Regions from separate parts of the Homo sapiens genome. Here region 2 is linked to region 1. The links are contacts of gene promoters, found by promoter capture Hi-C in blood cells and fetal thymus (Javierre and others, 2016). All regions are on one chromosome and are shown on one strand. The core of a region is centred on a gene start or on the middle of the fragment in contact, and the rest is flanking DNA. Distances in the headings are between cores, read along the strand shown.

Evidence for each region. The method cuts DNA at HindIII sites, captures the fragments that hold promoters and counts their contacts. A CHiCAGO score of 5 or more calls a contact.
Region 2: a contact is called between a fragment that was not itself captured here and the fragment with the promoter of RGS2 in region 1, in 1 of 17 cell types (monocytes). The highest score is 5.7, in monocytes.

The regions. Positions count from the first base shown.
Region 1 is chr1:192,807,418-192,810,387 of GRCh38, reverse strand. RGS2 (regulator of G protein signaling 2) reads right to left here and starts at 1,349. Exons shown (of 5, transcript NM_002923.4): 1 at 1,207-1,349; 2 at 121-222; 3 at 1-18. The coding sequence starts at 1,316. RefSeq lists silencers at 96-155, 1,663-1,872, 2,809-2,898 and an enhancer at 1,113-1,332. The HindIII fragment of the contact is 4,593 bases long and covers 133-2,970 here.
Region 2 is chr1:192,886,099-192,888,889 of GRCh38, reverse strand. No RefSeq gene overlaps it. Among named protein-coding and RNA genes, the nearest start is that of RGS2-AS1, 61 kb to the left of the region's middle. RefSeq lists an enhancer at 983-1,516. The HindIII fragment of the contact is 291 bases long and covers 1,184-1,474 here.

The DNA.
Region 1 (2,970 bases), core at 100-2,599:
GCTTCCTCAGGAGAAGGCCTGCAAGAGAGGTTCTGTATGTTAGCTTACGCACATCAGAGTTCCCCTTTTCAGTTCAGCAGCTAACTATTGATATTTGCAAGCACAGGATTCTCAACTTACTTGATGAAAGCTTGCTGTTTGCTTTTTTTGCCGGTTTTGGGCTTCCCAGGAGTAGAGGAATTTTGTAAGAAGTAGCTCAAACGGGTCTTCCAATCTTTTAAACTAAAACAAAAAATTAAAAAGATAATTACTAACTAGCAACACTTGAATATGCTACTGCAGCTGAACGCATTTTTACCAAATAAAGTCACCCAGTAACTAGAGACAAACCGCATAAGGCAAAGCAAGAACTCTTCAAATAAGTCTTATCCACCTAACATTTAAACCTCATGTACTGAGCAGTTTCGTCCATTAATCTGACCGTATCTACTAGTTTTACAACTAAGGGCAGGGCTACCTATAATCACTAGGGTATTTTAAAGAATTGTTAATGAATTTAGTTCAAAAGGCAGACACTATTTCTGGCTCACAAAGGGCATCAGTTTGTTTGCAAGGTTAATTACAATTCCGAGACGTTTTGCACTTTAATGAAAAGGACAGACATGGAACTGTCTGGAGCCGGCCCACGCTTCTCTCTTTAGAGCAGGAGGTTCTGGACCACGCCAGAGACTGTACAAAGAGGTGGGTGACTGATTCCCCTGCGCTCTTCCTTCCCCACCTACGACACTTCTTTTAAGCAGACGCTGCATAACAATTATTTGTTCCACATTCGGACTGGGTGAGATCTGCTCTATAATTAAAAAACAAAAATGGATTTTAAACGAGTATATTCAGAACCAGCAAGAGCATCACCTTCCAGTAGCTGTGTAAGCTGATGAGAACTCATCATGCAACGTATGAATGCTGGGGACGCGCTTCAGCCGCAGGATTCTGATGTCATTTTGAATGCAGGAGGACAAAAAGCCAACCCGCAATTTCTTAGCGCATCAACCACCGCCCTCATATCAACTGTCTCCCTCGGTTCTTAAACTGTACCCGAGCATCACCCAGATTTAACCTTACTTAACAAATTGACCTTTTCGATTTTTTTTCCCTGCATAGGCTCAGGCTAGTTTCCTAACGTCAAAGGCGAGCCCGAAAGTACCGCGTTTGCAGCTTGCAGTGTGGGGCAGGGGGTGGCGGGAGAGGGAAGAAAGCCATACTCACAGGGTCCGTTTCATCTTTTCTCGCTTCTCCTCGCTCTTGTGGCCACTGCCTGCGCTCTTGTCCATGGGTCTGCAGTCGTGTTGAACAGCCAAGAACATAGCACTTTGCATTATCGTTCTCCCGCTGGAGCCCCGGCTGTTTGCGGCTGGGCGTGCGTCGCAGCATTTATGAGGCCTCGGCTTGGGGGCGGGGCCTCGCGGCTCCGGCCCCGCCTCAAGAGGACGCGGATTGGTCGGCTGCAGACTGGCACGGGGATGGGTCAGCGCCCGCCGGCGGCAGTCACGGCTGCTGCCGAAGGGTCTCGAAGCCGGGGCGCTGCTGACGTCTGCGGCCCCGGCTTCTTGCGCACTCGGGCCACATAGCAGCGGCCAGCTGGGGCAGGTGTGGGAGCAGATGGAGAGTCTTCAGTGTGGGCCGCTGCGCACGACCTTTTGCTGAAGCGTGGCGGCCGGGCGGGCTCGAGGGCTTTGCGACGGAGGGAGGGAGCCGAAGTTGGCGGCGGCCCGGCGGGGGCGCCGGCGCTCCCTCACCCACCCTGACGGGCTCCCCAGCCCGAGGCCAGAGCGGCGATTCCCTGGCAGGAGGAGGTCGCCCGCCACGAGGCCGGAGTGCAGTGGCCTGATTTCGAATGAAGAGTGGGATTTTTCTTCCTTTTTTGAGCGCGTTCCCTGACCCCGCGCCTCATTTCTTGTTTGCTGTCCTGCTGTAGGACTCATTCGACACCCCCTGGTCTGTGAACTGAGGCAATGGGGAGACCCTCGCCCGTTTCTCTCTGCCACTTAACTTAAGGAAGGAGTAACCTGAAACGTTGATTGCCCAGGGGCAGGGTGGGATCTGCTCTGCAGCTTGCTGGGGCGTCTTGGAACACTTTGAGAATGAACATTAGGGATTGAACAAGAGAAAGTGACTTTATCAGAAGACAGTGCTTTAATTGGGTTTGCATTTTTGATCACTACTAGGCACGTGGCTGGGTCTGTCTATAGGGTCATTCCTCAGGAGTCCTTGGTCACATCTCCTGCCAAAATAGAAATCACAGATTTCCTTATGGTGGGAGAGAAAGCTGCAGACATAGAGATTTCATAGCTGTAATGCACCAGAATCAGTGAGTTCAAGGAGTCAGGATTTCCTCATGAGTCATTCTTGTTGAGTTAGGATTTACCAGAACATTTAATAACTGGCAAAAAGTAGGGGGGAGAATGAGTTAACAGTTTCCTTGATTAAGTTTTATTTGTTAATTCTTCAAGTATCATCTCTACTCCTGAAGGTTTTAAAACGACTTGATTGGTAAAGACAAATAGATTACCTCAACCACAAAATGAGTTGATTTCGGATAATATTACCAGAACTAGCCAGTGAAATGTTTAAGCGGCTTTGCAACCAAGCTGCAGATATTCTCTCTACTTTGTATTCGACTTCTTAAAAGGAAATTGGAAATAATTAATATATTCTTACGGTGAGCTGCCAGTAGTTGGAGCTCCAAGTTTGACTTGGAGGGCAAAACCTGCAGTTATTATTTAAGACAACAGTTGTGGACTTTATTGTGGAAAGGAAAATCGTGTAGATTTCAGTAATAGATACTTTGAAACATGCTTGTTAACTCTAGGAATGCCATTTTTTCTTAAGCATATGCTCTTCCTCTCCTATGCTTTGCATAATAGTCCTACATCTATTTTCACTTTCTGATGACTCAATACGTATTTATCAGCTGTCTGTAATACGCAGACACTTGCTTTTTCTCACCACTGTAAACCTCAATATATTTTA
Region 2 (2,791 bases), core at 80-2,579, 79 kb before region 1:
TGTTTCTTGTTTAAGGCACCCAGTTTACGGTATTTTGTTATAACAGCCTGAATAGACTAAGATGGTTCTGCATTTCTTTCAGTGACACCACATTCTCAGTCAGGCAGGCTGGATGTTTGGAAATCATCCTCAACTCCTCCTGTTTCTGCTCCGACAATCCATTACTAAATTCTGTTAGTTCTCTTTTTTGGTATTCTTGCTCTGTGTTCAGTACCACAGCGCCTTGTCATTTATTGTCTGGATTATTTATATAATATCCTCATTGGTTCATTTTTTGTCTATGAGTTCCTGGAGACTTAAAGAAGAATTTGAGACACAATGAAGCATCCTTCTTCAAAAATTTCCAGTGGCTTTCCATTGCCTGAAGAATAACATTCAAACTCCTAAGCAAAGAATTTACAGCACCCCATGATAAGGCCTCAATCGCCTCTTCAGCCTCAGATCCTAATATACTTAGCCATATGCCTTTTACTGCAGCCATGTGGGTTCACCAAACATGTTTTCAAGTTCCTGGGTCTTTGCATCTCTGCTTGGTAGAGTTCTTGACTTTTCATCCTGTTCTGAGATCCTACTCATTCTTCAAGACTCTTTTGAAGTGCTTCCTCCCTCTAGCCACCCCATGATTTGTCTCATTAAATGCTTATGTTTCAAACACTGCAAAGTATTTTGTTTCTACCTTGTCATGTCACTTAATTTTCAACATGATTGTCATCTTGTTTAGACTGACAGGTTTGTAAGGACTGGGACCTTTGTACATTGTGTGTTGTACATTGAAGTTGCTCAATAAATGTTTATTGAACTTAATACCTTTGGAGAAAGAGTTAACAAGGACCTATAAGCAAGACGGAAATTTAGGTAAACGGGAGGGCATTGAAATAGAAAAAGAGTGTACTGAAGAGAAAACAGTTTTCTCTTTGTCTTTTGCCCAAGTAAGTCCTCCTTAGGATAGAATCAATGCTTTTTTACCCTGGAGGTACACATTCAAGTCACAAAATCTTTGTGTCATCTACACCAGACTTATGACTTTCATACTTCAGATGTGTACTATAAATAACAAACACAGAATTCTTATTTGTCTTTTAAATATTTGTTGGTTTTATGTCATTTTGCCATTCTTGGTTTAATGTCTGCTACGTAATAGAGGATTTGTCTGGTCTTTGCCCCAGGTTTCTGACATGAAGCTTCTAAAACCCTTGGAATTTCCTGAGAGATAGAAGTCTTTTTGTTATTCCTGAGCCTCCTGAATGGTTCCTGAGTTTATGCTAATGAGGTGACTCACGGTGGGCTATTCGATAGCTTTGGGACAGGGGCTGGGCGCCAGAAGGACCAACCATGTGATTGGAGGGTTGAAACTTTGAGCCAGTCTGACTTCCAGGGAGGACAAGGTGTGGAGATTGAGTTCAGTCATGTTGCTAATGATTTAATCAAGTATGCCTACCTAATGGAACCTCAATAAAAACTGAATACCAAAGCTTAGTGGTGCTTCCTGGTTGGTGAACACATCGATGTGCTGGGAAGGTGCCATGACTTGATTTGATAGGAAGACGATACAGAAATTGTGCACTAGGGACCCTCTCAGACCTTCCCCATGTGTCTTTTCATTTGGCTGATCCAGAATGTATCCTATATAATAAAACTCTAATCCTAAGTATTACACTTTCCTGAGTTCTGAGTTGTTCCAGTAAATTATTGAACCTAATGAGAGACAGGACTAGCTGGATTTCCTAGGCCGACTAAGAATCTAAGCCTAGCTGGGAAGGTGACCACATCCACCTTTAAACATGGGGCTTGCAACTTAGCTCACACCCAACCAATCAGAGAGCTCACTAAAATGCTAATTAGGCAAAAACAGGAGGTAAAGAAATAGTCAATCATCTATTGCCTGAGAGCACAGCGGGAGGGACAAGGATTGGGATATAAACCCAGGCATTCGAGCCGGCAACGGCAACCCCCTTTGGGTCCCCTCCCTTTGTATGGGAGCTCTGTTTTCACTCTGTTTCACTCTATTAAATCTTGCAACTGCACTCTTCTGGTCCATGTTTGTTATGGCTCGAGCTGAGCTTTTGCTCACCATCCACCACTGCTGTTTGCCACTGTCGCAGACCTGCCGCTGACTCCCATACCTCCAGATCCAGCAGGGTGTCTGCTGTGCTCCTGATCCAGTGAGACTCCCATTGCCACTCCCGATCGTGCTAAAGGCTTGCCATTGTTCCTGCACGGCTAAGTGCCTGGGTTTGTCCTAATTGAGCTGAACACTAGTCACTGGGTTCCACGGTTCTCTTTCATGACCCACAGCTTCTAATAGAGCTATAACACTCATCGCATGGCCCAAGATTCCATTCCTTGGAATCCGTGAAGCCAAGAACCCCAGTCAGAGAACACGAGGCTTGCCACCACCTTGGAAGCGCCTGCCACCATGTTGGAAGCAGCTCGCCACCATCTTGGGAGCTCTGTGAGCAAGGACCCCCAGTAACACTAAGAGGGTCATGGGAACACTAGTTGCTCAGAAGTGTGGGTGACCTAGGGACCGCCAAAGTACAGCTGGAATCTGAAGTAAGAGAAGATTTGTGAAGGATTAAGCCCTTAACTTATGGAGTCTGCACTAACTCTAAATGGTCAGTGCCAGAAATGACTTTTAGTACACCAATTTTGGTTGAAACAGAAAAATGTCACAGAATGAAAACCATTTTTGTAAATAGCAATAATTCAGTCATTTTTGGTGGAAATTCTTTGGTGTGATCTAAACCAAAATGAGATCAGCTTTGCTTCAAAAAGATTTTGCCAAATAAGA